2 separate regions of the Homo sapiens genome follow, and region 2 is linked to region 1. Evidence: promoter capture Hi-C in human tissues and cell types (Jung and others, 2019). All regions are on one chromosome and are shown on one strand. Each heading gives the region's core, a stretch centred on a gene start or on the middle of the fragment in contact. The rest is flanking DNA. Distances are from core to core; before and after follow the strand shown.

Region 1 (5,376 bases), core at 1,421-3,920:
GTGATGAAAACAGTGTCATACTGGCACACGCATACAGAGATCAATGACACAGAATATACAGTAGTTCAGAAATAGCTACTTACAGTTACTTAGTAGTAAAAAGATGACTGGCAGGATGTATTTGTGCCATATATGATAGACAAAATGTTAATTGCCTGGATACATATAAAGCACCTACAAATCAATTTCAGAAAGACCAACAATCCAATAGAAAAGTGAGCCAGAGACATGAGCAGCTAGTTCATAGCAGAGGAAACATGCATGACTTCATCTAGGCAGAGATGCTCAAGCTCACTCGTAAAAGAGAAGCAAATTAATGTGGTAGTGAAATGCCACTTTTTCGTCTCTCAGATTAGCAAAGCTAAAAAAAAAATCCTGAAACTTCTACTGGTGAGGGTGTAAGGAAACTCAGACATGACAGGTAGTGGGGCATAAATTAAACTTCTTTGGAGGGTAATATATCTGTATTTAAATTGTAAATATTCTTTGTTCCATTTCTACTAATTTCTTTCTTTTCTTTTCTTTCTTTTTTTTTTCTTTTTTTTTTTCTTTTTTTTTTTTTTTTGAGACGTAGTCTCACTCTATCACCCAGGCTGGAGTTCAGTGGCACGATCTCAGCTCTTGGCTCACTGCAACCTCTGTCTCCCAGATTCAAGCAATCTCCTGCCTCACCTTCTGGAGTAGCTGGGATTACAGGCACTGCGACCATTCCTGGCTAATTGTGTGTGTGTGTGTGTGTGTGTGTGTGTGTGTGTGTGTGTGTGTGTGTGTGTGTTTAGTAGAGATGGGGTTTCACCATGTTGGCCAGGCTGGTCTCGAACTCCTCACCTCAAGTGATCTACCCGCCTCAGCTTCCCCCCCAGAGTGCTGAGATTACAGGCACGAGTCATGGTGCCAGCCTCATTTCTATTAATTTCTTAAGCAAATCAAGAGCATACATTGTGGCATTGTTTGTAGTGGCAAAAGATTGGAAACAACCTAAATGTCCATCATAGGAAATTCATGAAATAAAACTACCTCATGTATCCAGAGGAATACCATGAAACTGTTGAAGAGAATGGGGACATAGTCCTTGTGTGCTGTGACAAAACGATCTCCACACACAGTATTAAGGGAAAAAAAGTACCTGGCACGGTGGCTCATGCCTGTAATCCCAGAACTTTGGGAGGCCGAGGTGGGCGGATCACCTAAGGTCAGGAGTTCGAGACCAGCTTGACCAATATGATGAAACCCCATCTCTACTAAAAATACAAAAATTAACCAAGTGTGGTGGCATGCGCCTGTAATCCCAGCCACTTGGGAGGCTGAGACAGGAGAATCGCTAGAACCTGGGAGGTGGAAGTTGCAGTGAGCCCACATGGTGCCAGCCTGGGCAACAAGAGTGAAACCCCATCTAAAAAAAAAAAGCAAGGCGCCATTGGGAAGGGGAAGTGGGGCCTGCATGGCTGAATTCAGAGAAGGAAGGGAGTCTTGGTTATCAGATTATCTCTGCAGCTGATCTCCAAACCTATTTCCCTTCTTCCTGGCACAGGGGCCACTCATTTCCCAGACTCTTTTGCATGGAGGCATGGTTGTGTGATTGAAATCCAGCCAGGCGAGCAGGCTCAGCCCACAGAAACCTCCCATGGGCCACCCCCATGCCTTTTCTTCCTCTGGTTTGTGTGGAATGGTGCTGAGCCCCCAGGGCGACTTTGGTGGAATCTGGTGTTGAAATCAGAGTCCCACCGCCGGGCGCGGTGGCTCACGCCTGTAATCCCAGCACTTTGGGAGGCCGAGGCAGGCGGATCATGAGGTGAGGAGATCGAGACCATCCTGGCTAACACGGTGAAACCCCGTCTCTACTGAAAATACAAAAAATTAGCCGGGCGTGGTGGCAGGCGCCTGTGGTCCCAGCTACTCCGGAGGCGGAGGCAGGAGACTGGTGTGAACCCGGGAGGCAGAGCTTGCAGTGAGCCGAGATCGTGCCACTGCACTCCAGCCTAGGCGACACAGTGAGACTCCGTCTCAAAAAAAAAAAAAAAAAAAAGAATAAGCAAATCATGCAAATCATCCTGTTCTAAACTCTGAACCGCTGCTTCCAAGACCGTCCCTGCCCTTGCCCTGGCCGCCTCTCTCCTTGTTAACTGGGCTCCATTCATTCTTTCCATTTCTCTAACACGTGCCAGGTGGTCTCATCTCCTGGCCTTTGCCCTTGCTGTTCCCTGTCATCATTCAGGTCTCACTTGTCATTTCCTGACCATGGTACTTATAAAAGCAGTGCCGTCTGCCCCATCCATGTCACCTCGTTCATCTCCTTCACCTCCGAAATGATCTCGCTTTTGGGTTTACGGCCGGTCTCTTCACCTGGAGCATCAGCCGGGAAGGTCAGGGTCGCCCTGGCTCGGGCCTGTTCACATTGGGGTCAAAGGCACACATTGGGGGCTCAACCAAGGCGAGCTGCGTTCGCGGGGCCGGGTCTTTCCGCACAGGCGGAGGGCGGTGGCGGGCGCGGAGGCGTCGCGCGAGCCAGGGGGCAGCCACGGGCCGGGGGTACCTAGCGCCACCCGCTTCGCTTGCATCAGCTGCGCGCCCCATCCCGAGGAATGGTAGAGGCAGCCCCGCCCCCGGCCCGCCCCCGCCTTTCCATTGGCTGCCGCGCGGGGCGGGGAGCGGGGTCGGCTCAGTGGCCCTGAGACCCTAGCTCTGCTCTCGGTCCGCTCGCTGTCCGCTAGCCCGCTGCGATGTTGCGCGCTGCCGCCCGCTTCGGGCCCCGCCTGGGCCGCCGCCTCTTGTCAGCCGCCGCCACCCAGGCCGTGCCTGCCCCCAACCAGCAGCCCGAGGTCTTCTGCAACCAGGTGAGCCCACCGGCCGGGCTCGCGCTTTGTTTTCCGGCCCGAGTCCCCCGCAGGCCCCTAGGAAGGCCCCGCGCCGCCGTGGGCCTTAGTGTACTCATCTGGGGCTCGAGGGGTTTGCAGAGGCTGACCTGGAAGCACATCTGCCCCCTCCTCTCCTGCAAGCATTTTAGCCCCTTCGCCGCCTCTGACAGTCCCCGTCCCATTTCCCCGTGACTTGGGCCCCCTCTCCGTCTTCGCCCAGCCTCGGTCTGTTTTCCAGGGCCAACTCTCGGGGTTCCGTTCTCCCCATGGTCCTTGCTTTCGGGTCTCCGCAGGGTCCCCACCCTCACCCACTCAGAAGACGCGACCAAGTCCCTCTTTGCAGGAACTTTCCTGTCTTTTCCTTAGTCATCCCCTTTACCCCCTGACTCATGCCCTCATCCAAGGAGTTCAAAAGGAAAAACCAGGAAAGAGGTGATTTGCAGCCACGTTCTCCAGTTCACCATGGGCGAGGCCACGCTCGGCTGCTTCCATTGCTGGGAGTAGGGAATCCTGGAGGACCTTCGGCCCCAGGGGGCCGACCCCAAGGGGTGTCTGCGGCTTCCAACGCCGGCTTCGACCAAACCAAGGAGGAGCTTTCCAGGATAAAACTGATTCCTGTGGTCCATTTATTGATTGCTCAATCAGTAATACTTTGGAATATTTTTTGTTTTGATCTTTGAGTTTGGTTAAAGTTCTAGACTTCACAGAGGCTGAAATTGGTTATGAAAGAGTTTGTTTTGTTTGTGCCAGTGCATGTTGGCTGCCTTCTCTGACTTAAGCTTTTTCTCCTATAAATGGAAAGGCGCTCTGAGGGTTAGGTTCACACAGGCCCTCATCAACCAGTCACTTCATAGTTAATCACAGCTCCTGTCCTGTCTGCACAGCCTTTGTGCAGCACTGTTCTAAGCGTCTACCTGTTTTGCAATTTAAGGTAATTTTTACAACAGCCTCAGTAGGAAGGGACTGTAATTCTCCATTTTACAGATGAAGAGACTGAGTCACAAAGAGGTTTAGTGACTCACCTAAAGACCAAAGTCAGTGGCATAGTTGGGGTTCACAGCTGAACTTCCAGGAGTAAGCCCCTAACCAGAACATTCCATGGTATGTTGTGACTCTGGGTGGGAACAAAGGGACCACCGATCCTCTGGGACTATTGCTGATTTGGGATGCTGTAGAGCTGGCTCCTAGCCAGCTGCTTTCAACAGCACACCTGCTGGTCTGGCCCTGAGTGTGGCTGCAAATCTGGATATAGGTGATGGGTAAAGGCACATGCGTGTGATTTTAGGGGATGTTACAAAGGTCATTTGCAAGGGAATTTTTAAAAGGATAAAATAAAATCTTTTGCATAACACAAGCTAAAAAGGCAGCAGCTATGGCTCCCTTGGCAGCCTGTGCAAGTTCATGCTTGGAAGACTTGAGCATCAAAAGATCTAGCAGAGGCCAGGTGCAGTAGCTCATGCCTGTAAATCCCAGCATTTTGGGAGGCCGAGGTGGGATGATCCGTTGAGCCTAGGATTTCGAGACCAGCCTGGGCAACATAGCAAGACCCTGTCTCTAGTCTCTACTAAAAAAGTAAATTAGTTAGGTGCGGTGGCACATGCCTGTAGTCCCAGCTATATGGGAGGCTGAGGTGGGATGATCCCTTGAGCCTAGGATTTCGAGACCAGCCTGGGCAACATAGCAAGACCCTGTGTCTAGTCTCTACTAAAAAAGTAAATTAGTCAGGTGCGGTGGCACATGCCTGTAGTCCCAGCTATATGGGAGGCCGAGGTGGGAGGATCACTTGAGCCTAGGAGTTCGAGGCTGCAGTGAGCTATGATTGGGCCACTACACTTAGTCTGAGCAACAGAACAAGACCCTGTCTCAGAAATGTCCTCAAGGAACAGCCATCGCCCTAGGAACCCTTCTGGCCACAGGATCTGATTAAAATCTTTATCCTTTATCACATGCAGATGAGGCAGCTGGGTCCAGATATGCACCCAGGCCCATAGGTAACACATCCTGTTCTCCAGATTTACTCTGTGGGTGTAGGCTGGAGGAGCCGAGTCAATTCCCTGTGGCTGCTTTTCTTTATCAGACTTTTTGAGATCATTAAAGTAACACATGCCCACTGTATAAAATTGCAGAGGACTGACTTACAACTCTCTGGACATGGTCAGTCAAGGTGATTCATGCCTGTAATTCCAGCACTTTGGGATGCCAAGGTGGGAAGATCGCTTGAGATTAGATGTAAGGCTGCAGTGAACTATGATTGTGCCACTGCACTCCAGCCTGGGCAATGGAGCAAGAACCCATCTCTTAAAAAATAAATAAATAAATAAACCTCTCTGGATACCCCATTTTACTCCCTCCAAGAGCACTGTGAACAGGTGGGTGTGTCTCTTGTAGACATTTTGTTTGCATTTACAAGTGCCTGCAGCAAGAGAGAGAGAGAGAGAATGCAAGCACACCAGACTTTTTTTTTTTTTTAACATAAATGAGATGCAACCACTTATATTCTGAAGCTCGCCGTCTCACTGAA
Region 2 (5,376 bases), core at 1,217-3,716, 230 kb after region 1:
GGTGTTCATTCTTTGGCTAAAGGACAGGCTCTGACTTTCATTGGCCACTCCATGCAGGTGTTCTGCAAGTTTGGCTTTTATGAAGTCTTTAAAGTCTTGTATAGCAACATACTCCCAGAGCATGTTATCTCTGGTGCACATCACTGTATTTGGCTGCCTCTGCCAGTGCTGAATTCTTTGCTGTAATTGCCCTATGGAAGCTGCTAAGGTTCAAATTCAAACCCAACCAGGTTAGACCAAGACTTTGAGGGATGCAGCTCCCAAGATGTATAAGGAAGAAGGCCTAAAAACATTCTACAAAGGGGTTGCTCCTCTCTGGATGAGACAGATAGCATATGCCATGATGAAGTTTGCCTGCTTTTAAGGTACTGTTGAAGCATTGTACAAGTTTGTGGTTCGGAAGCCCTGTGGTGAATGTTCAAAGACAGAGGAGCTGGTTGTAACATTTGTAGCAGGTTACATACCTGGAGTGTTTTGTGCAATTGTTTCTCACCCTGATGATTCTGTGGTATCTGTGTTGAATAAAGAAAAAGGTAGCAGTGCTTCTCAAGTCCTCCAGAGACTTGGATTTAAAGGTGTATGGAAGGGAATGTTTGTCTGTATCATTATGACTGGTACTCTGACTGCACTACAGTAGTTTATCTATGATTCTGTGAAGGTCTACTTCAGCCTCCCTTGCCCTCCCCCAAGATGCCAGAATCTCTGAAGAAGCAGCTTGGGTTAACTCAGTGACAGATCAAAGCAAATGTGGACTGAAACTGCTTGTTGATCAGTGTTGAAGAACGTACAAAAGGAACTTTCATATATTTGACAGTGTAGGAAATTGTCTATTCCTGATATAATTACTAGAGTACTTTCACTTAAGTCAAGAGTTTCAAATTTACTATTGAAATAAACCCAACTCTTCAGGAAAAAAAGAAAGAAATATAAAATATTAAGATAACCAAGACACTCTTGAAAAAAAAAGAAGAACTTGCCCCACCTCATCTTAAGACTTATCGTGGGATCTGGCCAGCAGCCCGCAATGCAACGGGGCTCTTTCTTTGTTCCCAGGTGGATCGGCAGGTCGAGAAATAAAAGACACACACAAAATAGTGAAAGCTGGGTCCAGGGCGTCACCGCCTTCTGGTCCTGTGATGCCGCCAATGCACTGGATATACTGGCATTTATTATTAAGTTTAGTGAGGGCGGGGGTAGGTTAGTGAGGGATTTAGGGGGTCATTTGATTATGAGGTGAGATGATCACATGGGGATGAAGTAATTCTTTAATGTAACATCGGTATGCATAAGTACAGTATACAGAGATAAGAATTTACAACATAGTGTGTGTGTCAGCAATTTCTAACAGAGCCTTAAAACAGAAACACAGTCTATCCATAACCTATGTTTAGTAAGATACTAATCAGCAGTAATATTTGCAGCAAAAGCTGGTTGCAAACAATCAACAGAAACAGGATGTGAAACAACCGGTTAGACCACAAATTCTCAGAAGGGAGTATGCCTTAACCCTAAAGAGACCCAGAAAAGCCGTGGCAAGATAAGGGCGTTTATAACCCTATCTTATCCATATGAACAAGCGCCCCTCATGTGTCTATTTATAGGCTCTCCACAAGGGTTGCATTGCATTCCCAGAGCTATGAACATCTGCTTTTCTGGGATAGTAATCTTGGTGATGTGAAACCTCCCTGACTGCACGTCCGTTTATAGGCTCTCTGCAGGGAGAAGCACATCACGCACTGTTGGCTCATTCTGGCAGCCAAACCTTGCATTGTCTTTACAAAATCCTGCATGCAATTTTGTATTTACAATAATCAGGAGCATTTCATCTTTTATTCCATAGCAATAGTTTCAGGAGGTCTCCCTACAAAAACTAACATAGACCTAGAGTGAAGATACTGTGGTACTAGTACAGGGATGGACAAATAGGTGAATAAAATGAAAATAGCCCAAATTAAACCCAGCAATATATATATAGATCTCTGATGTATGACATAAGTGGCTTTTTCAATCAGTGGAAAAGAGACAGTCTTTTCAAAATATGAAGCTAGAACAATTGGGTATCCATACAGGAAAAAAAAATGAAATTAGGCCCCTACTTTGTATCTCACACTACACTCAAAAAATCAGTTCTAGGACGGGCATGGTGGCTCACGTCTGTAATCTCTGCACTTTGGGAGGTGGGCAGATCACCTGAGGTCAGGAGCTCAAAACCAGCCTGGCCAACATAGTGAAACCCCATCTCTACTAAAAATACAAAAATTAGCTGGGCATGGTGGCGGGCGCCTGTAATTCCAGCTACTCAGGAGGCTGAGGCAGGAGAATCATTTGAACCCAGGAGGCGGAGGTTGCAGTGAGCCGAGATCATGCCACTGCACTCCAGCCTGAGCGACAGAGTGAGACTCCATCTAATCAGTTCTAGGTCAGGCTCAGTGACTATATGACTATAATCCTAACATTTTGGGAGGCCGAGGCAGGAGGACTGCTTGAGCCCAGGAGTTCAAGACCAGACTGGGAAACATGGTGAGACTCCATCTCTACAAATAAAATAAAAAATAAAAAAATTAGCTGGGCATGGTGACACACACTTGTGGTCTCAGCTACTTGGGAGTCTGAGGCAGGAGGATCACTTGAGCCCAGGAGGTCAAGGCTGCAGTGAGCCATGATTGCATCACTGCACTTCAGCCAGGGAAACAGAACAAGACCCTGTCTCAAAAAAAAAAAAAAAAAAAAAAATCTATTCCAAGTAGTTTAAAGACCTAAATGTGAAAGGACAAAAACTGTAAACCTTTTTTTTACATTCTATAGGAGAATGTCTTCAATTTTTGTTTAGGGAAAATTTTCCTAAACAAAACACAAAAAGTACTAAAAGAAATAATGAAAAAAATCAACCACATTAAAATGAAAAATTGAGTCTGTGTCAAGACACCATAAAGAAAGTAAAAAGACATACCACAAAATAGAAGATATTTGTAACACATATAACTGACAAAGGATCCAAACTGTGTTTTAAAAAAATTACTAAGTAGTAAGAAAAACTCAACAGAAAAACAGGCAAAAATATTTAACAAAAGAGGAAATCCAAATGGCCATAAACATATGCAAATATGCCCTACTTTATTAGTAATAAAGGAAATGAAAAATTAAAACCACAATAAGAAAATAATTACACACCCATGGCAAAAATTTTAAGTCTGATAACAGCAAGTATTAACGGGAACAAAAAGCAACAGGACACTTTATACACTGCTGGCACAACCAGTTGGAAAAGAGTTTGACATTAATTTAGGGGCAGTGGAAATCCTATGACAATTCTGATATTGGGCAAATATACTAGATAAGCTTATGCATTTGCGCACCAGAAAACATGTACAAGAATGCTTATAGCAGCATAATGTACAAGAATGCTTATACAATAATGCTTATGTACAAGAAAACATGTACAAGAATGCTTATAGCAGCATAAGCAGGTAAATAAATTTTAGTATATTCATACTACAGAATACCAGACATCAATGAAAATGAAATGAACTCATGCTCTATACAACGTGGATACATCTCACAAATAATATTGAGGGATAAAAGCAATTCATAAAACAATACGTACAAAAATACATATAGCATTATTCCAATTATATCAAGTTCAAAAACAAGCAAAACCAAATTGTTTAAACATACATACATTTCTGGTAAACCGTACATAAGAGTAAAAAAATGCTTATCACAAAAATCTGGATACTGATTATCTCTAGAGGTGAGAGGGAGAGCTGTGATTGGGAAGAACCTCAATAGGTATATGTCTGGAAGTACAGGTAATGTTCCATTTCTTGTCACTAGTGTTTGTTTATAATCATTCTTTAAATAGTACATACATGTTTCATGCATTCTAGTTCATGTCTGGTATATCTCACAATAAAAAAATACATTTACAAATTTTAAAGTCCTGGCCAAGCACTGTGGCTCAAGCCTGTAATGCCAGCACTTTGTGAGGCTGAGGCGGGAAGACTGAATGAAGCCAGGAGTTCCAGGCCAGCCTTGGCAACATAACAAGACCCCTGTCTCTACAAAATTAAAAATTAAAAAAAATAGCTGGCTATAGTGGCGTGCACCTGTAGTCCCAGCTATTCAGGAAGCTGAGGTGGCAGGATTGCTTGGGCCTAGCAGTTTGAGGCTACAGTAGGCTATGATCCTGTACTATGGCCTGAGTGGCACAGCAAAATCCTGTTATCTAAAAAAAAACAAAAACAAACAAACAAAAAAAACAAACAGAACAGATATTACCTAATATGAGAACTAATCTCCCCACATGTACAAAACAGAATTTTTCTCATCTCTTTCTCCCAAGCCCACCTATACAAGAGGATTTTTCTCATATATTTCTCCCAAACCAGAAAAAGAGGTAAGATGCTAATTAATATCTTGTTAATAGGGTTAGATGGTCAAGTTGCCTTGGCTAACAGAAACATAAAAAAGTGAAATAATATGTAATAAAACATTTAAAAGTATAAAGTATTTAATAAATATCAGCTATTATGTTAACCACATATGGCCTTTTCTCTGGGTAAGCTTGCTAAAATTCCAGTTGGATGGCACAGTCATAGATTCTACTGGCTTATGACCTATCATAAGTTTATAACTGTTAAGAGATTTAAAAATGTGAAATGGTGAAGTCAAGAAATATATAAAGAAAAATCTCTAAATTTAAAATGTTTTATTTGGGAAGCAAGAATTGCATTTCAGGGCATACACACAGACTGCGTGGTCTTGGACATGTCTGAAGAACAAAGAGATGACTGGGAGTTTTATTAGAAGGGAAATAGTACATGTTGTTTTGAAAGCAAGCTCACTGGCACCAAAGAAAGTTTTGGGAGTCGGCAAACTCTGATTAGTGAGTGACCGTGGTATGTAAAACTAGTCCTAAGAGACAGGGCAAGTCATTTTGGCAACTACAAGATCAAACTGGTCTCAGGGTTACATTGGACTATTTTAGTAGCTGGGCTTGTGAAAATATTAATTATTGGAGCAGGTGCTATGTGCTCTGAGAGCTTGTTCCCCTTGGCTTCTCGACTCCAATTTAGTTGGGTATGACAAGAATGATCCAATATGTATAATCAACTTTCACATAAATAATCCCTGGAGAAGAAAAGCAGCCATGCAGCTTTTGTGAGCAATAACATTCTGATCATTAATTCAAGAAATAGCCCTATGAGGCTGGGCGCAGTGGCTCATGCCTGTAATCCCCAGCACTTTGGGAGGCCGAGGCGAGCAGATCACCTGAGGTCAGGAGTTTGAGACCAGCCTGACCAATATGGTGAAACCCTGTCTCTACTAAAAATACAAAAAAATTAGCCAGGCATGGTGGCATATGCCTGTAGTCCC

Evidence for each region. The method cuts DNA at HindIII sites, captures the fragments that hold promoters and counts their contacts. A contact is called where the count stands out against the background at its distance.
Region 2: a fragment that was not itself captured here is called in contact with the fragment with the promoter of ALDH2 in region 1 in 1 of the 25 tissues and cell types used here (IMR-90 fibroblasts).

What each region holds. Positions count from the first base shown.
Region 1 is chr12:111,764,263-111,769,638 of GRCh38, forward strand. It overlaps ALDH2 (aldehyde dehydrogenase 2 family member), which reads left to right and starts at 2,671. Exons shown (of 13, transcript NM_000690.4): 1 at 2,671-2,834. The coding sequence starts at 2,721. RefSeq lists an enhancer at 2,130-2,899 and a silencer at 2,359-2,678. The HindIII fragment of the contact is 11,183 bases long and covers 1-5,304 here.
Region 2 is chr12:111,993,330-111,998,705 of GRCh38, forward strand. The region is part of intron 3 of TMEM116 (transmembrane protein 116); the gene reads right to left. It also overlaps the pseudogene SLC25A3P2. Among named protein-coding and RNA genes, the nearest start is that of TMEM116, 17 kb to the right of the region's middle. The HindIII fragment of the contact is 7,954 bases long and covers 1-5,376 here.